Regions from separate parts of the Homo sapiens genome. Here regions 1, 2, 3, 4, 5 and 7 are each linked to region 6. The links are contacts of gene promoters, found by promoter capture Hi-C in human tissues and cell types (Jung and others, 2019). All regions are on one chromosome and are shown on one strand. Each heading gives the region's core, a stretch centred on a gene start or on the middle of the fragment in contact. The rest is flanking DNA. Distances are from core to core; before and after follow the strand shown. Region 1 has its middle 250 kb from the start of LINC00992. Region 2 overlaps LINC00992 (long intergenic non-protein coding RNA 992). Region 3 has its middle 170 kb from the start of LINC00992. Region 4 overlaps LOC124900192. Region 5 has its middle 230 kb from the start of LINC00992. Region 6 holds the start of SEMA6A (semaphorin 6A). Region 7 overlaps LOC105379138 (a long non-coding RNA gene).

Region 1 (2,700 bases), core at 104-2,603, 590 kb before region 6:
GAGAAACCTTTCTGAAGGCTCTTGCTCTAGACTGTGTGAAATCTTGGACTAGGGTAGTAACACAAGGTATGGAGAAAAGTGAGGGGCATTTACATATAATATATGAGTAAAATTTATAGTGCTTGCTAATTAATTAGATATGGGGATGAGACTAAAAAATGATTTTTTTAAAAGCTCAATAATTTTTATTTGAGCAAGTGGGAGGAAGAGTGTGATATTGACTACACAGGAAAGACCCAGAGCTCATTGTGCGGTATGAGGTATTTATTAGTAAACAGTACTTCTGTTTTGACCTGTTATGTTTGACATGTCTATTTCATATCCAAGTAGGGATACTAACCAGGCAAATGCATATATTATGTTAGAGTTTCAGGAGAGGTCAGGTCTAGAGAAATGAATTTTAGAATCGCATAATTATTTAGAGCAAGAAACAAGAGCATGATTACCAACAAAGCAGGGCAAGTTGAACAGAGCTTATTCATAGGGCACACCAACATCAGAGATTGACCAAGGGAAGGGAAGACAAGAATCTGAGTCCTACCTGTGCAATCTTCCAACTCTATGACTTATTCAAATTAGCATCACCACTCCTCAATCTTCTCATTTTAAAATGGGGATAAATCATAATAAAAACTACCAAGGCTGGTTGGAGAATTAATGGGGATAATTCCAACTAAAACACATAACAACATCCCCAACACACAGTAGGGTTCAACAGTTATCTGCCATTAGTTTATTTGCCAAAATATTCATAGTTTTAATAGAAAAAAAAGTGGAAGCAGCCAAAATTATTTTTTAAGTAATAAAATAACTTTCAACAATCAGTGAAAACAAAGCTATATGCAAGTTGAGGAAAAGAAAAGAACAGACAGAAATAATTCTAAGTTGGTATAAAATTAGTAGTTACATATAGAAAGCTATTCAAAGAAAGAAAATTAGATTGCAGGTTCTAACCAAAGATTTTTTTTTTTTTTAATTGTAAGGGAGTAAATCCAGAAACTTTCAAGTGAGAAAGAACATCAGAATGTAACTGGATGGTAACATAAAGGCTTCTAATCTTCAGGCAATTGAAATGTTAAAATCTGCCACAGAGCAGGCCTCTACATTAATTACTATACTTTCATGTAACATTTAGCCAATAGTAAGTGTTTGCCATGGAGTTCCAAAATTCAGAGAAGAGGGTTATTTTGCGATTTCTATTGAATTCTCCTTTTTAATTAAAGCAACTCCCCATTCATAACTTAATTTTTAATACTTTGTGGGTTATAGGAAATAAAGCACTGATTGCCTTAAATAAAGAAACAGATCTGACTACATTTTTATTATTTCATTATTTCACTGCAGGAAGAAAAAGTACTCATAAATAAATACATTTTTTTCCAAATCTACATGTCTCAAGGCAACTAAAAACATCATATTCTGGGATATTCTAAATGTTCTTAATGAAGCAAGTATAATCAATTGCTTTTTGAATCAATATTTCAACAAAATGATGATAAGATGGAGTTGAATTCTCTTGCTTCTTTGCTTTGTCTAAATCTCTGAGAAAAACATTGTTTTTTCTCCCTTCATTCACGAATAAAATAATATCCCCCAGGGCAGGCACGGTGGCTCACGCCTGTAATCCCAGCACTTTGGGAGGCCAAGTCAAGAGACTGAGACCATCCTGGCCAACCTGGTGAAACCCTATCTCTCCTAAAAATACAAACATTAGCTGGGCATGGTGGCACTCTTCTGTGATCTCAGCTACACAGGAGGCTGGGGCAGGAGAATCACTTGAACCCGAGAGGCGGAGGTTGCGGTGAGCTGAGATCGCAGCACTGCACTACATCCTCACAACAGAGTGAGACTCCATCTCAAAAAAAGAAACAAACAAAAATCTCCCACCACCAAGAGTGACACAGAATTGAAAAAAAGACAAAAAACCCTGTATCTATGTAGTCACTTATGTGCAGCTGCTGAACTCTCCAAACAAACAGCTGGGCAATTATGACTATCACCCTTGTATTCTAGAACACAGTCTGAAAATCATTTGTATTTAAGTTAAAGCTTCAGTGCTTCTGCTGTGTGTTAATTCTCTCTTCCCTTCAGCATCCCTTTCCCCTTTTTCTCCCCACCTGACCCACTGCTTCCCTATTTCTCAATACAAAATTTTATCAAACCTGTTCAGCATATTTTTCCTGTAGGGGAAACAATGCTAAAGTTTATTGCCTGTACAGTTATTTTAGCAACTTAGAAATACCTATCAGCTCAGAATTTTCTATCACAAGTAAATTTGGAAGGCAGTTAATTCAAATCTTAATGTGTGTCTGAAAATATTGGTGATTCAATTCTCAGCCTGTATTTTCAAGCTTCTTCCATACATATTTCTTATAAATATTAAAGTAAGGGACATAGGATTTTGAATTCCACATCATTGCAGATAACCAGGGAAATTGCAAACTGCTTCAAGAATTATTTGGAAACTCTATATGATGATCTATGAATTTATTCATATGCATTTTATACTCCTCTCATTTGAAAGAAATTTTTAGTCTGTACCATTCTCTCCTTTGATCTTGAAGTTACATTCTTACAGATTAAAAGGGATAGACCCCTTCTTTCGTGTTCACCTTTCTTATCGTTATACTCCATCAAAATGAGAAAGCCATAAAAAACTCCATACTCTAGCCAAAGCATAGAAAGCTTTGTGTCTGGGGT
Region 2 (2,700 bases), core at 2-2,501, 850 kb before region 6:
ACTGTACATATAGCAAAATTTGATAACACCAAAGAGGGAGACCAATCCACAATCACACTGGAAATTTCAAAAACAGACAGAATATAGAGATATTTATTATTTGAACCACAAAATTAATCACCTTGGCCTAACTGACTTTCATCAAATGCAGCATCCAACAACTACAGAATACATATTCTTCTCAAGTGTGCATGAAATGTTCACCAAGTTATACCACATGCTAGGCCATAAAAATAAACGTTAATACATTTTAAATGACTGAAATATTACTATCATTAGACCAAAACATAATTCAATGAGAAACCAATAATAAAAAGTTATTAGAAATATCCCAAATATTTAGAATTTGAATAGTACTTCTTTAAAAAGCTCATGACTCAAACAAAAATTTAATGGCAAATTAGAAAATATTTCAAACTGAATAATTATAAAAATACAGGTATCACATGATAGAGAATGCAGCTAAAACAGTGCTTAGAAGCTTAGAATAAAAAATATTTTAAAAAAGCCTAAGTTTTCTCTGAATAAGCAAGGAAAATAGAACAAATTAATCTCAAAGTAAATATAAAGTAATAATTAAAAGATCAAAAAGCAATAAAAGTAAAATGCATACTAGAAAGATTATTAACAAAGCTAAAAATTCTTTTAAATAATTGATAAAATTAACAGGCTACTAACAAGATTTAACACACACACAAAAGAAAAAAGACAAATTCCCAAATACAAGTATTGAAGGGTGCAAGTTAGTTGGATCATATTCATTAATAAAGAGTATTATGCATAATTTATACTGATAAATTTGACAGAGTATATGAAGTACAGAAGTCTTTAAAAAATACAATTAATAAAAACTGATCAGAAAAAAATAACACAAAACCATGATAGATATCAATCTGAAATCAAATTTTTTTGTTGATAATTCTTAAACTGGTTCCACAGTCTTACACTAACTTTTTCAGGAAATATAAGATGAATAACAGTTTCTAGGTCATTTTTTAATTGTAGTTTAAACTAAGTTCAGATCCTGCAAAGGACATTATTCATGAACATTGACACAGAAATTTCTAACCAAATATTAACACGAGAGATGACATCTGCTGGCTCCAAATTGAATTTTATGTATTGAATCCAACAATACATAAAAGACATAATACATCATTAACAAGTGAGTTCTATCTCAAGGGTGCAAGGTTGGTTCATTATTCAACAATATAATTCAATCAATATAATTTACTGTTTTTATGTATATGTTTTATATATCCATACCTTAGGTCAATTGTTCATGCAGAAATAGCCTATAAAATTATAATAATAAGAAGAAACAAACACAATAACCTAAAACAGAAAATGTTGGAGAAGGGGGAAAATCTGATTTCAGAAGTTATCACATTATTACATTCGAATGTTTTTTTAAAATAAAAAAAGAAGGCATACAAAGAAACAGGAAGGTATCACAATTTCAAATAATAATTATCAACAGAACTCTCCCTGAGAAAGACCTAATGGCAGAACTACTAGACAAAGACTTTAAACCACCTATCTTAAAGATGCTCAAAGAACTAAGAAAAGATGTGAAGGAAGTCCAACAACAGTAAAAATATTAACAACAAAAAAAATTTCAAAGAGAAGCAAACAAAAAATTATAGACCTGAAAAGTACAACGTGACATAACAAATTCACTAGGTGAATTCAAAGGCATATTTGAGTGGACAGAGAAAATGATCAGCAAACAATAATAGGAAAATGCAAATTACTGAGTCTGAGGAACAGAGAGAAAAATATTTGAAGAAAAGTGAATAGTACCAGAGGGACCAATGGAATACCATCAAGTGGACTAACATGCATACTATGTGAATCCCCAAAAGAGAAGAGATAGAGAAAGAGGAAGAGACAGTATCTGAAGAATTAAAACTTCTAAGTTTGATGAAATACATAAATACAAACATCCAAGAAGCTCAAGGAACTCCAAGTAAGATGAACTCAAATAGATCCATACCAAGACACATTATAAGCACATTTTTCAAAACCAAAGACAAAAAGAATATATAGGAATCAGCAAGAGGGAAGTAACTCATTACATACAAGTGATCTTCAATTGGATTGTCTGCAAATTTTTCATCAGAGTCTTTGGAGACTAGAAGGTAGTGAACTAATATATTCAAAGTGCTAAAAGAAAAAAAAAAACTGTGAACTAAGAATCTTATATCCAACAAAAGTGTTCTTCAAAAGTGAGAGAGAAATTAAGATATTCCAAGATAAACAAAAGCTCAGAGTGTTTATTACCAGTAGACTTTCTCTGCAAGAAATACTCAAAGGATTCCTCCAAGGAAAAATTAAGGACACTAAATAGAAACATGAGGCAAAATAAAGAAATATTTTGTTACAGTTAAATACAAGAGCAATTACAGAAGCAAATTAGATAACCTAGAAAAAATGTGCAAATTCCTGGAAATACAAAGCCTGCTAAGACTAAGTCATAAAGAAAAATAATGTCTGGTCAGGTGCAGTGGCTCATACTTGTAATCCCAGCAATTTGGAAAGCCAAGGCAGGAGAATCCCTTCAGCTCAGGAGATTGAGACCATCCTCGGCAGCATAGGGATATCCTGTCTCTACAAAAAATTTAAAAAATTAGCCAGGCATGGGTGGTATATACCTATTGTTCCAGCTTTGTGGGAGGCTGAGGTGGGAGAATCACTTGA
Region 3 (2,700 bases), core at 130-2,629, 670 kb before region 6:
TTCCTATTAAGCCTCAGGCAAACAGCAGCTCAGGAAAGAAAGAAAACTAAAGGGAGGGATCAGAGACAATACATATCAACCAAGAGTGAAGAGGCTGAGGCAGCTAAAATGCCTGCCCCTGCTGCAGACAGTCCAGGTCTGAAACCCCTAACTAACAATGGGAAACTCTGGATTCTCTTTGATGGCAAATGTTTCTGGTTCTTACTATGCTTTGTGCCTTCTGAATGCCTGCTGTTGCACACTAGAGGAAAATCCTTTCTCAAATCCACAAATATATCAGTCCAAAATCTAGAAAAGTTTCCTCATCCTTTCTGTATTTTATCTTGAGTATAAATTCCTCAGGCCATTTTTTCCTCCTTAATTCATGTTACCTTAGAATCTGAGTCCATTGAACATAAAACACTCTTTTCTACATTCACCCTACTACATGAAGACCATTAATGAAAAAGTTATTATGCCAATTCCTCTTTCTTTAAGTAAGAGCCTCACACACCTGAACAATCATAATGGCCCTTTATTTCATATGGTGCAGACATTGCAAATATAACTTAATAGAAACCATTTAAGTTCAAGGGTACAGTGCTTCAGTTATGAAAGGAGACCACCCTTATAGAGGTCCTTTTTACACTCCAATGGCTTCTTTGTAAAAATTATATAATAGGATAAAAGTTGGATTGAAAGGGAGGATCAGTGTTGGGGGAGGAGTGGGAGGAAGTACAGCAGGACTTTTCAGTTTATAACAATCAAAATACTACCAAATACAAAATTATCTCATTTTCTTCCAGATCCTGTGAATAGCTTTTCTATAGAAAGCTCCCAATGGTCTGCAGATTCTAGTCCCTTATAGGTGGCAAGGTTTAGAAAAGAATGCACAAAATAATGGAATTCATATGCCAAGCAGCTGTTGTCACAGCAGTTTTGCAAACTGACTCCTCCCCATCTCCTTCTTCATTCTCTCCAGTATGCCTTCTCAGTTCTTTCTTGCAGTGCCTTGCTTCCCTCCCTACAAAGCCCAGACACAACACAGCTCCTTGAGTCTGCCCCGTTCACCCGCATCAAGCCCCCTCTCTGAAATAAGTCTTTGAAATATTTTGAGGTGAGGAAAAAGCTGGAAGGGTAACTTAAAGAGCATATCTTAAGACAATTTCCTTTCTCTAAATATAATTGTTATGACTACACTCTGTTTCTCATACTTTTATTGCTCTAAAATGGAATGAAACACAAGCTTTAAACAGCACAGTCATTATAAGACCTTTTGCCAGCCGCACTACAGTTTCCATTTTCATCAGCTTGGCAATCTTTAGTTTTTTTACATTGATTTATTTCACTTACATTTTCTTAGGTATTTTTTTTCTCTTCTCTCTTTCCCTCCACTTTTCCTCCACCTCCTGTCCCCCACCTTTCTCCTCCTCCTTGTCTTCTTGCCAATTCTAATACAGTTCTTCATCTTTGACAGTTTGCACAGTGCTTGCTATACCACTTGTTTTCTGAATTATGTCCTGATGTTAAATTTGGCTGCAAAAGAGGTGTGTCCACATTCTTTTACTCCCTTGCTCCAAATTAGATTTTTTACTAATTGAAAGAGTAGGGAAAAATAATCACCTCTTTCCATATTTATAATGTATTTTATCCATTCTCTAGTTAGAGAATTATACAGTCAGTTCTTTTTATTTGCAGTAGTTGTGATCTGTAAAGTCACCTCACTGAATCGGCAAGTTCTAAAACACTGCTTCTAGCAGAAATACATGGTTAGGTTCCTGCAAGCCTCTGATCGTAACGTTTTTTGTCATCTGATCAATGCATAACCTTGTTTTATGTGTGTTTCTGTTTATAGGCACCTCATTTAATATATATTGTTGATTCATTAGCATTGAACTCATGGTCAACAGCAATATAATTCATGCCTCAATGAAGCTCATCTACCACATGTATTTTCCCCCTAAGGCATATCTTGAGCTTTCTTGAGCTCAGAAACACTAGGCAGCACTTCAGCACTATGTGTGAAGACCATTTTAAATAGTGAAATCACCAACCAAGAAACGTCAAAAAATGTGTCATTACATAGATCATTAAAAAGGACACTTGTTTACACCATGAAAGCTAAAACAAAGAGGTAGTGTCACCTTGTTTGACCCTAACTTGAGAATATATGAGTCAGGCAACTCAAATTTTTTGCCACCCTGCTCATGTCCACAAATAATGGCAAAAGCAGTGGGAGTATTGATTCTGGGGTTACAAATACATTTTAGCAAGTGAGTGAATTCTCAAATACAGAATGCAGGAATAATGAGAATCAACTGTAGTTACTTCTGGACAACAGAGTATATATATACCTTAGACAGACATACTGCTATTTCTGTGTCACTGGAAATTGTGATTCGTTGGATTATGAATCAGCATTGACTTGGGATAAATAATTGAATTACTACTTGAGTTTCATTTTCTCAGTTAAAGGCTCTTCATGAAAAAGTAAAAGATATTTTAGCCTATTTTTGCAAAATGGTAGCTGCTATTTTGTATTGTAAAGAGCTATTTGTTGTTGCTACTACAACTGTCACTGTTGCTTTTCTCCCAAAGGAAGAAGGAGAAGCAAAGAGTTTGTTTCAAAATGTGGGCTACTGAAAGCAGAATTAGGAGTCTTGAGACCAAAAGTACCAAGAGTTTTGGGTCCAGTGAGCCCCTGAGGCATGTGGAACACAA
Region 4 (2,700 bases), core at 126-2,625, 890 kb before region 6:
AAAAAGGGAAGAATTAGAATTAAAGAAAAAAAGCCATTAGATAATGGATTTTCCTACCTGCCAAATGATAAAAGTAATTTGAGATGATTTTTCCATACTAAATGAGAAACTACTAGAAAAAAATACACTATGTGGCCAGCAGTTGTGATATGTGTATTCTAGTCTGGGATATGTAGTAGAGCACGCAGGTTAAAAACAGCCTTGGAAATTAGGCCATCTATGTTGAATCCTACCTCCCTTACTAACAGTAACTTGGGAAGTTATTTAGCCTCCCTTTTCCTTGGTTTCCACAGGTAACTATCATGGAGTAGTGTCTTTAAGTGTTATTAAGATATGATATGATTAGGCCATTCGATGTGACTCTGTTACTAACTAGCACTATAACAATGAGAAAATAAGCACAGTAATGTATACGATTTCTTCTAGTTCTCAAATTTTATGCCATCATCGATTTTTGAGGGATTTTTTGCTTTTCATTTTGTTTTTAATTTAGCATCTAGGTATAATAGTTTGATCTACAGACTTGCCTGCAAAAGATCACGATTCAGACCTCTGAATTCTGTTCTCACAACTGCAATGATCAGAGGAATCCCTGATAGACGCCCACTGAGAAAAATGTCTGGGAAAAACATCCAGACCTGTCTATGATGACTTTTTTAAGGTGTCAAATTGGCAACATAAAATATGAGGGCAGAAGGAACTACAGCAGCCATTTTGTAGCATACATACATCTTCTTCCAGTCTTTCAATCAAATGCTAACTTAAGTGCTGGCTGTGAAGGTATTTTGCTGATGTAATTAAAATTGTAATTAAATAAAGTACAGGGTCTATCCTCATGAGCCTGACCTAATCAGTGGAAGCCTTTTTAAAAAGACTTAGGCACTGTCCTTAGCCATGCTCTGATATTTTTGGTCTACACTTTGTTTTTCCTTTATAGAACCTTCCCTTCCTCATTACCTGTGACAACAGCTTCATCATGAAGCTTCAGAGTTTCAGTCTGCTTGTGATCTTCACTTCCTGACTTCTTGCCCTGTGGATTCAAATTACTTCCCCACAATCATGTAAACCAATTCCTTGTGATAGCTCAGAAAATAGATAGATAAATAGATAGACTGATTGATGGATTAATAAGTATATTTGTATCTTTATTAGTATATCAATATATCTATATTGACTGCTTTTTCCCTCAACAAAACATTTCTAAGAGGTCTGGGAAATGATTCTTTTCCTCTTTTCCATCCAGTTGCCTAATTAAACTGTTGATGGCACACATTTTCTTCCTAGCAGTACAAATACCCAGGCTTAGCTTGTTGTAGCAGCCCAGCTAATGCAATTCTAATGGAGAAAATAAGTACAAAAAGATGGCCTAAAAAAAGAACATACACTAACACACACAATCCAACAGACACAAATCCAAATTTCCTTATTAACCTAAATTTTCACTCTTAGATACATATCCTTGGCCTTTACTCATAATATCACTGTACTTGGGGGCAAGTATGGGCAGTGGAAAGATGAGGCCTTATATTTTCCATATAATTTGGAGCATGCTATTAACACTAAAGAAGGATCTACTGCTTAGAATACCCATGTTGTATCAGGAATAGAGAAGGACTAGAAATAATACAAGTAACATCTCCTTGGAATGACTAAAATTTCTAAAAATTTCAATATTATTTCAACTTCTCTTCAGCATTTATTTGCATTTAAGTTTTCTAGTCTACTACTAGTATGGATAAATAGTGTAAAAGGAAAAGGTTAAAACCAAAAGGGTTACATATCTTTATATAAAGGAGAATTTCTAATGGTTACAATCCCTGTACTAAATGGGGGCCCTATTAGCTTCCATGTGTATAGTTACTATCTTTTCTTGGCCATAGGTTACCTGCGAGCCATAGCTACATAATGGAGATGACTGGTCACCAGGGGCAACTAAAAAGAAAATGGGATTGATAGGTTTAGAACCACAATAGTGCAACATCATTTCTAAAATAATGACCCATTCAGGGTCAGTTTATCATCTTTCTCCATTATATGTATTATACCAAATTTCTATGGATTTGTAAATTCAGGTTGATTATAGCAGTTAAACTCAATGCAGCCAGGCTCTATTTTGGGTTGCTGGAGTTCAGTCATAGTGATCCATTTAAAGTACTCTGATGTATAATTAAGTGGCTAAATTTACATACTTAAATTGTAATAAAAGTAGCCATAGGATATTCTCTCTTGCACATTTAATTCATTATATTAACCATATTTGGAGCACATAGAAGAGTTTTCAGTAGGGAATGTTCTGAAAAATATGTGACTGTAAAGCTCTACTAAATTGCCTATTAAAAAAATGTTCTTTTTTGTAATCAATCAAAACAAAATGTACTGAATCCTCACCTAGAAAAGCATTATGCAATCTACAACTTATAGGAGTAGGATAATGTTCAGAGAAGAGCTACAAAGATGATTAACATGTTGGACTACAAGAGCAATTTTAGAGGCTAAAGGGACAGAGATTGTTTAGCCTGGAGGAGGATGGCTTATTGATGGTCTTCAAATATATGAGTGGTTTCTCTGCAGAGGATGGTAACCTGCTGTTTTCCATCTTTTCTGAAGACAAGACAAAAGGAAATAGACCTACTTTTAGTAACTTAGATTAAAAACAAATAAAACTGTCTTGGTAGTGAACATTGTTAATCACTGAAATGA
Region 5 (2,700 bases), core at 184-2,683, 610 kb before region 6:
CTGAAAGGTGACTGAGGTTTCAGTGATTTTCAAGTAGTGGTATTTTATTAGCCCTCAGAATGACAATAGTACTTAAATATACAGAGTTTTCAAAAGCCCAGAACTTTTTGTATATTAAAAAACAAAACAAAAAAAACGAGCCCTGTACTCAACTTACTTTTAAAATATGGACTAAAATACTCCAAACCTAAAATGAACTGAGCTCATCTTTTGCCTTTTAATCATTTGAGACAGCATATTAATCCTGATTAAGTTGAACATTATACATCATCAGTATTCATTTTCTATAAGCAATACTAGTATAAATGCTTCACAGTCTAAAGAAATTCAATTTTATTGCTTCATTTTGGGATGATGATAAAAAATGGGTGAAAGAGGTGATCATCACAACTCAAAGTGGTACACGACATTCCTTATACAAACAGGCTTTATTCACTTGCCTTCTTATAATTTTAAAGCAACTTCAATAAACTGTGTCTATGCAAATGCAGGGAGAATCCTAAAGGGAAAGTTTCATGTTGATGTATGCCAGATACAGTAATTCTTTATTTTGCACATATTCTCTCTCTCCCTCTCCCTCTCCCTCTCTCTCTCTCTAAGTGTGCTGGAACAACCTAGGAACAGAAAATTATGGTCTTTCTTAGACTTCAAAAGTTAAAAAAATGCAATGAATCATCTTGAATAAAATTTTAAATATTAGCCCTTCTACTAAGTTTTGTAGAAGTTTAAATCTAAAGTGCATGTTGAGTTAAAAGGCAAATGTAATATTCACTGACTGATTGCAACAAATGCTATAGTACTGCTTATCTTTCTCAGTTCTGTGTTCTTTCCATTACGTTGCTACTTTACATAGTTGTACTGGGGGTGAGAAGGGGTGTTCAATTAAATGAATAGGTTCCAGTACTTTGTGATTAATAGAAGATTTTATATTCTTAGATACACGCAATAATAAGTCAGAGTCAGAGCAGCATTTATAGGATGGGGAATAGAAGGAAAATTGTTTATCTAACAGATCATGGTCTTGAAAAGCTTTTATTGTCTTGGCAGGCTTGATTCCATCGCCTTCTCCTCCTGAGCCAGAGAAAGGAGCTGTCCAAACTGAAGATGTGAAGGCTAAAAAGTACTTACAACCTAGGTCCACTGTTTCTGCAGTGCTATTTGTGACAATCTGGCATTCTAGAAATGACTTTTCAACAATAAGAAAGATGTTATCCACAGATTCGAACCTTCTCTCAAAGCCAGCTTTGTTTCTCTTGTGTGCTGAGCAACGTTGGCCAAGCAAGTCTAGGCTCACCCACTGTTTGCTCCACCTCTAGCCCATCTCCATGCCTGATTGCCCCCAAAATAAATCCTTTTCCTCCAACATACAGCTCCAAAAAGACTGAAAGCCATTTTTTTTTTTTTTTTTTTACTACTCCTTAAGTGGTATTTATTTTTCTCTACTTGTCCAGTTGAATTGCTGTAATATGCCCCAGAGGGCACTGTTTCTGTCAAGCTCAGAGAAGCAGCACCAGGAGCACTGTGAGGTGCATCAGTTCTGATGCAGGCGGGTAAGTTCAGGAGCCTGGAGACTTCCAGAGACCTGCAATCCAAAGGAGAGAGCTGAGCACATGTGGAGGGCAATTCTGTTCAAAGGAGCTAAAAAGCTTGAATTAATGGTAGAGGAACCACAGGAGGTGATTGAAAGGCAAAGGTGGCTGTACCACAGAGGGGAAGATTCCTCAGCACCCAACACATTGCTCCTGCTTGGAAGTGAGGAATGTTGTGAGGACATTCCATGACTTACCCTTCCAATAACATGGATATAAACTAAACATTTTTTTCAATAACACTAGAGGAAACCTAAAGAGTAGACTTTTGTTCTGGCTCTTAAAGTACTTGTTCTCATTCTTTTCCAGGTAATCCAAATTATGTACTTATACACTATCAAATATCTGTGTGCTGTTTTCCTCTCCAGGCATGCCTTGTGATTGGGCTAATTATGAACATATACTGACATCCATTTAGAAGAAGTAAAATTACTTTCATCCCCAACACAGAAACATCTTTGCCGACAAGAAACCAAAATAATAACAATAATAATAATGGTAATAAGAAGAAGAAGAAGAAAAAGAAGAAGAAGAAGAAATAAAAAGCTTGAGTTCTCCCTGACTTGCAAGGACAAACAGTACAGAGTGAGGCTGAGCAACTCTGTGTAGAGAGAACCTCCTATAATCAGAGCCAGAAACTCTCCAATGGGAGAATTCAGCACTAGTTTAAAAAAAAAAAAAAAGTTAAAAAAGAGAAAAAAAGAAAAAGAAAAGGTGTAATTACAGGCAGGGGGAAATGTGGACTAAAATACTGCCAAGAGAAGCCTCAAGACTGGTATTCTTTAGGACCTTTCAAGTTGTTCCTTAGCTTTAAGCTGCATGGATCTGTCAAGAGTAGAATGGGGATTTGGCACTTTAGGTGAACAAAATGTCATATACTTTCACATCTGTGTCATTACATGAATAAACTCAGCAGATGGATCCAACTGTCTCTGCAGATACAGCATTTTATGCTTGTCCACACAGGTCTCACTAGCTCAACCCACACTCAGCAGGTTCAAATCTGTGGCATGATAATCAATGTCATGCCAAAATTGTGCTATAGAACTTGTGTTGTATTCTCTCCTTACATTTAATGCCTTCAGATCTCAGCACGTCTGTGAGAGTTTGC
Region 6 (2,700 bases), core at 160-2,659:
GAGAACAGCAGGGGTACTGATTTTTTCTTTTTTTCCTACCATTCTCCCTACCTTTTCCAGGTGGTGGTAGTGGTGCGGGGGGAATGGGTGTTGACCCATGTGCATTTATTCTTCGTGAAGCCTCTTAAGCAGATGTCTGTACTTAGAGAAGCGACCAAAGAGGGAACGTGGACTTATTAGTGGTCTTAGTCCCAATTAGGGAACAGGTACAGTTTCCAATATAAAGAAACTCGGCCTAAGTGGGACTGAGACCCCGATCTCCGCACTTGCTTTTCTCAGCCAACTCCATGACTAGTAAATATCTCTCCGAGAACTGCTGGGCCGCCCGATGTTACTTTGTTTAAAGGTTGCGACTAGGATCCGTACCATCTGCGAAGCCCCCTTGGGGAGCAAGAGCCGCGGCGCGCAGTTGATTTCGGGGCGCAGCGGCAGGGGGAGGGGAACGTGGTGTGGCCCGACGAGTTGGCACAAGCCTGTAACTGCAAGACTTTGTAGCTATTGAAAGTTCAAGTGGTGAAAGAAGGCTGTGCCTGCCATTCTTCATGTGATCATAACAATAGCGCCTTGGAAGTGGTTGCGATTTTCTTCTTCCATAAACCTTTTGGGTTCTCACTGGAATTGTATGCGTGTTATTTCTGAAGTTTACTTATTTCTAAGACCAGTCCACAAAATGTGAACTTCATTAAGTTTTAAAATAGATCGCCGTCGTTAAAAACGCCATTCTCTGCACTGTAGTTTATTTGCTTACTTCACATGCTTTATTAACGTGTGTATGTGCGTAATTAATAGCTGTGTTCTTATCTTCCAAGTGTATTTTTAACCGCACCGGCTTCTATCCAATTCATCTAACTACGTAGAGCGTCCATCGCTTCTGGAATCTACCTCTTGATAACAGTAATCAGAATCAGAAAAGCTCGCCGTTCACTTACCCTCATCCTTTAAAACTTTTCCATTTAAGAAAATCGATGAACAAAACCTTTCTTGTAACTCGCTCCTGCACTACGTCTATTTTTATTTATTTTTCTGATTTGGCAGGACTCAGCAATGCTGTCCGGGATTTTTTTTTTCTTTTTTTTTTTCCTAGCTAGAGCAGATGTGGGGGTGGGGGAGGTGAGGGCTGGGCTCCAGCCAGAGTCGCCCCCGCTGAGCCTCCGCCTAGCGCGCGGTGGGGCCAGGAATCCTGGTGGAAGGAAGCGGCGCTGGCCAGTTGGTCCAAGGCTCCACCTGCAGCCACACCGCGTAGTTTCTCCGCCTCTGCCTCGCTCACTCGCACTCACATACACCACAGCTCTCCTTTGGGTCGGAGGAGACGCCAGCCAAAGTAGGCGGAGTTGCGGAAGGAGAGTCCGATCTGCGCAATCCAGTCCGGGACTTGGCTCCGCCCGGGAGCGGCGGCCTCTCCGGTGACAGAGGAGTAGTGAGCGGCACGGGGTGAGGCTGCAGCCAACTCCGCTCCCCGCGCACTCGGCTGCCCAGGCGCTCGGAACCCAGCAGCGGCGCTCCTCCGCGGTGCCGGTCGCCCGCGATGCCCGCTTAGCAGCGTGTAGCAGCGGCCAGCATCACCACACCCGCGGCACCGCGCTGCCGGCCGCAGAGCCGGGCCAGAGCCTTGCACCCCTGCCCCAGCCCCCACCCCGCCCCCCGCCCTGAAATGACTTGTTAATCGGCGCAGACACCACCAAGGGGACTCACCGAAGTGGAATCCAAGTGGAATTTGGATTTGGAGAAGAGTTTCTTGAACATTTACCCTCTTCCTTGTTGGTTTTCTTTTTCTTTTTCTTCTTTTTTTTTTTGGCTTCTTTTTTCCTCTCCCCTTCTCCGCTCGTCATTGGAGATGAACACATCGCGTTTGCATCCCAGAAAGTAGTCGCCGCGACTATTTCCCCCAAAGAGACAAGCACACATGTAGGAATGACAAAGGCTTGCGAAGGAGAGAGCGCAGCCCGCGGCCCGGAGAGATCCCCTCGATAATGGATTACTAAATGGGATACACGCTGTACCAGTTCGCTCCGAGCCCCGGCCGCCTGTCCGTCGATGCACCGAAAAGGTACGCCCCGGGCGCCCGGGCGCGCCCCACCTCCCGGGCAGCTGGACTCCAGCCTGAGGGTCCCGGGGCCGTGGCTAGCGCGTGCTGTCGGCTTTGTGGTGCCTGCGTTTTATTTTGTCTTGTGTCTCTGTTTCCCGAGCCTTGCCCGGTCCTGGGGGAGCAGCCGTGAGCCCTGCCTGCCTTTCCTCTCTGCCCTGCGCCCCAGAGTGCGTCCGGCTCCACGTCGAGAGCTTTCCCACCCGCGTTGCGCACACGCCCGGCGCCGCCCCGGGCCGCGACGGCGCGTATGGCTGTTCCTCCTGGGGGTGTGTGTGCGAGACCCAAGGCTCATCCTCCCGCGTGCCCAGCAGGGAGCAGAGCGGGCCCTAAATGGTGGGATTCTCGGAAGCTCCCTGGCCCGGTGTGTCGAAGGCAGGGGAAGGGGTTCTGCCCTCGAGGGCTGGAGGGGGTTGGGTATAACAGCGCTGTTTTCGTCCAGTGCCAGGTGGGAGAAGGGGTTCCGCGGAGACGGTGTGGAAGCGGAGAGAATCTTTTGTTGTCAGTGTGGGGTCTGGGCTGGGCTCCGTGGAGTGCAAGAAACTTGTAATGGCTCTAGGCACCCGCGCGCCCTGTCTCTCGGTGAGATCCTGGCTCCTGTGGCCGCTGCCACCAGA
Region 7 (2,700 bases), core at 34-2,533, 700 kb before region 6:
TACATGTTGTCATGCTTCTGGGGTCTTGCATCTCTTCTCCCCTAATTCTTCCCCTGGGGTGGGCTGTCCCCATGGACAGTGGCCTGTCAACCCTTGGGAGGGGCTGCATGCGCAGTGTGTTTACTGAAATTGTGCACATGTTCATTTGAGCCATTTCCCTTACTAGTCAAGTGTTCCCAGAGGGAAGTCATATACCAGTTAAACTGCCATTTTTCCTCTTAGTGCACATGCCTGAGCCCACTCGCCCAACTCCTATGACCTTATCGGAAAGCTGCTGATCACCAGCTTCTGGTGTTTTTTATCTATTGGGAGATTGCCTTTCCCTGGTGCTGGCTGCATCCAATTATTATTTTAGAGAGAGACAGTTTAACAACCACCTTACCATCACCTTATGGTCACCTGATAATCATGGTGGTGAGTGGAGGAAGGGTTCTGCCCTGCTCATGTCTGCCTAACTACCTACTCTAACAAAACCAATGACACAGTTATCGAAGTAAAAAATAAACCTTTCCCCACATTTCAACATGAAGTTGTGCATTTCACTTGTAACTAATACATAGTTACATATTAGGTGCTCCAGGAATCACCTAGATTTTAGTGACAAGATAAAAGATGTTTGGTTTTCACAGTGCCAGTTCATTTGCTTGTTTCCATGTTTGTTTTGTGACCCTTGGTAAGTCTGCTGTCTTGAGGGAGGTGATGTCCTGATAATCCACTGAATTTATAGTTATTCCTTTTTTGCAGAACCAACAACATACAGAACAACAACAACAAAAACTTTCCTAAACTGAGTTGTTTTTTTCTTTTTTTTTTTGTATATTGACAGATGTTTAAAAACCAAACAATACTTACTTGTTTTAACATCTTCCTCAGACATTCTTTTTTAATGTAAAAGAACGTATTGAGTTACCTGGATGAAGCTGAGTGTTGCCATCTTCTCTGAGTAAAATTGCAATATGAGATGCTTTGTGCTAAGAGTAAACAAACACTCCTCATGGGTTCCCTAGAGCAGAGGACCTCAAAATGGGATCTATGACCAGGTTTTAGGGGTCAGTAATCCCCCTGAATTCGTATGTAATGTTTTGTGTGTATATACATCACTTCCATTACATATTCAGATAAGTCTTTTATCTAAAAATTCTGCATTTCTACAGGGCACAAACCCCAACATATTTTAGAACTTTCAACCAGATGAAGTTTGGTAGGCCTATCACTCAATTGCTGAGAGATTGAGAGAGAAGTAACAAGTAAGGTCAGCTTGGAAGCATACTGTTTGTGATTAAAAGGAATAATTTGGTGACCCACTTGGAGAGAGTAATAAAATCTGCATTCTAAGTCTAGCTAACTATGAGTCTCTTTGTAGAATGCGAAGGTCTTGGTTTTTCTCCATTCACATAGTGTGTAAAACATGGTCACTGAATAAGCATGTTCTAATCAAAGTTGAGTGTTGTTTTATAATTTTATTTTACCTATTTTTCCTTTAGTTTAGTACACAGAAAAACATTTTTGTAAACCTAAGCTGTAAAGTCTTTTCTGCTGCTTTTTAGGAGAATCTAAATTGAGTTTTAAATAAGGGAAGGGAAATTGGAGTATAAATATCCTTATGTTTATAATACCTTTGCCCTTGTAGTTGGATGTAGGTGTCTTTTACACATGGGGAGAATTGGGTTCAATATGTTTTTTAAAGCAAAACAAATATCACAATCTAAAGTCAATATATATTTTCGACCCAAATTATATTCATACTGATATGATTGAAAAAGACAATGAAAAAGTCAAACTTTCGTTCCATTGTTGGAATAGTATATCATGAAGAAAGCATTTGTGGGTTGTCTCTTAAGAAATTTGGGGGGTTATTGAAAACTTTTTATTCTCTATAATAAGAATCATCATTTCTCTATAATAAGAATCATCATCTCTATAATTGGAATCATCATTCAAGTTGTTATGGGACTTGAGAGCATATTCAGAACTTTTCTCTGAGGGTCTGTTATGGAATACAGCTAGAGAACTCCATCTAGTCAGGTTTAAATTATGAATGTTTTGACTCTATTTGGGGCATGTGAGACAAATTATACATCCTGGTCAGCACACTCCTTTTGGGATGGAGCTGCCTGTTTCTATAATCATTGATGCACTCATAAACAAAGGACGACATCTTTTCCAATAAAAGATTTTAAGTATACAATTTGCAGCCCTGAGTGTAAAATGCCCCAGAATAATATGAATAGACAAAGTAGCTTAAATTCCCTTCCGATTAGAGGTCATAAAATATGAACATGCTATTTAAATACAACTCAAGAAGAAAAATGAAAAACAGACTACATTTTCTTATGGTACAAATGCTCAGCCTTACAAACATTTGCAGAGAAAAAAATTGAAAGTGTGCGTCTTGATACATGCTATAATACAAATGCATGCTAGAACCAGATTCTTGTGAATTATACCCTCTTCTCAGACACACAAGCACAATCTTCCATTTCTTGGCTGTCTGTGGATTAGAAAGAGCACAAATCTGATTTTTCTTTCAAAGGTATCTTTCTCTCTTTGTCTTGGCTTTATCTCAGTTCATTTTCCTCTTAGTGTTCATTTGACAAGCATTTTTTGTTGTCACCCACATGTCACCCATATATGTATATTCATATTCACTCCACTTAGCAAAGTAAGGTCAGAAATGGCTTAAAATAACCATCAGTATAT

What was found. Contacts are between HindIII fragments. The study calls those that stand out against the background at their distance.
Region 1: a fragment that was not itself captured here is called in contact with the fragment with the promoter of SEMA6A in region 6 in 2 of the 25 tissues and cell types used here (H1 embryonic stem cells and dorsolateral prefrontal cortex).
Region 2: a contact is called between a fragment that was not itself captured here and the fragment with the promoter of SEMA6A in region 6, in 1 of the 25 tissues and cell types used here (dorsolateral prefrontal cortex).
Region 3: a fragment that was not itself captured here is called in contact with the fragment with the promoter of SEMA6A in region 6 in 1 of the 25 tissues and cell types used here (dorsolateral prefrontal cortex).
Region 4: a fragment that was not itself captured here is called in contact with the fragment with the promoter of SEMA6A in region 6 in 1 of the 25 tissues and cell types used here (mesenchymal stem cells).
Region 5: a contact is called between a fragment that was not itself captured here and the fragment with the promoter of SEMA6A in region 6, in 3 of the 25 tissues and cell types used here (dorsolateral prefrontal cortex, hippocampus and mesenchymal stem cells).
Region 7: a fragment that was not itself captured here is called in contact with the fragment with the promoter of SEMA6A in region 6 in 2 of the 25 tissues and cell types used here (dorsolateral prefrontal cortex and heart left ventricle).

What each region holds. Positions count from the first base shown.
Region 1 is chr5:117,164,533-117,167,232 of GRCh38, reverse strand. No RefSeq gene overlaps it. Among named protein-coding and RNA genes, the nearest start is that of LINC00992, 250 kb to the left of the region's middle. The HindIII fragment of the contact is 4,589 bases long and covers 1-2,700 here.
Region 2 is chr5:117,421,021-117,423,720 of GRCh38, reverse strand. All of the region lies in intron 1 of LINC00992 (long intergenic non-protein coding RNA 992), which reads right to left. Among named protein-coding and RNA genes, the nearest start is that of LINC00992, 6.9 kb to the right of the region's middle. The HindIII fragment of the contact is 6,055 bases long and covers 1-2,700 here.
Region 3 is chr5:117,243,882-117,246,581 of GRCh38, reverse strand. No RefSeq gene overlaps it. Among named protein-coding and RNA genes, the nearest start is that of LINC00992, 170 kb to the left of the region's middle. The HindIII fragment of the contact is 4,418 bases long and covers 1-2,700 here.
Region 4 is chr5:117,468,068-117,470,767 of GRCh38, reverse strand. The region is part of intron 1 of LOC124900192; the gene reads right to left. The region is part of intron 2 of LINC00992 (long intergenic non-protein coding RNA 992); the gene reads right to left. Among named protein-coding and RNA genes, the nearest start is that of LINC00992, 54 kb to the right of the region's middle. The HindIII fragment of the contact is 3,131 bases long and covers 1-2,700 here.
Region 5 is chr5:117,188,370-117,191,069 of GRCh38, reverse strand. No RefSeq gene overlaps it. Among named protein-coding and RNA genes, the nearest start is that of LINC00992, 230 kb to the left of the region's middle. RefSeq lists an enhancer at 1,338-1,839. The HindIII fragment of the contact is 3,333 bases long and covers 1-2,700 here.
Region 6 is chr5:116,573,532-116,576,231 of GRCh38, reverse strand. It overlaps SEMA6A (semaphorin 6A), which reads left to right and starts at 1,409. Exons shown (of 19, transcript NM_020796.5): 1 at 1,409-2,047. It overlaps SEMA6A-AS2 (SEMA6A antisense RNA 2), which reads right to left and starts at 1,814. Exons shown (of 3, transcript NR_147170.1): 1 at 1,693-1,814. RefSeq lists a silencer at 1,574-1,653. The HindIII fragment of the contact is 11,240 bases long and covers 1-2,700 here.
Region 7 is chr5:117,274,028-117,276,727 of GRCh38, reverse strand. The region is part of intron 2 of LOC105379138 (a long non-coding RNA gene); the gene reads right to left. Among named protein-coding and RNA genes, the nearest start is that of LINC00992, 140 kb to the left of the region's middle. The HindIII fragment of the contact is 5,193 bases long and covers 1-2,700 here.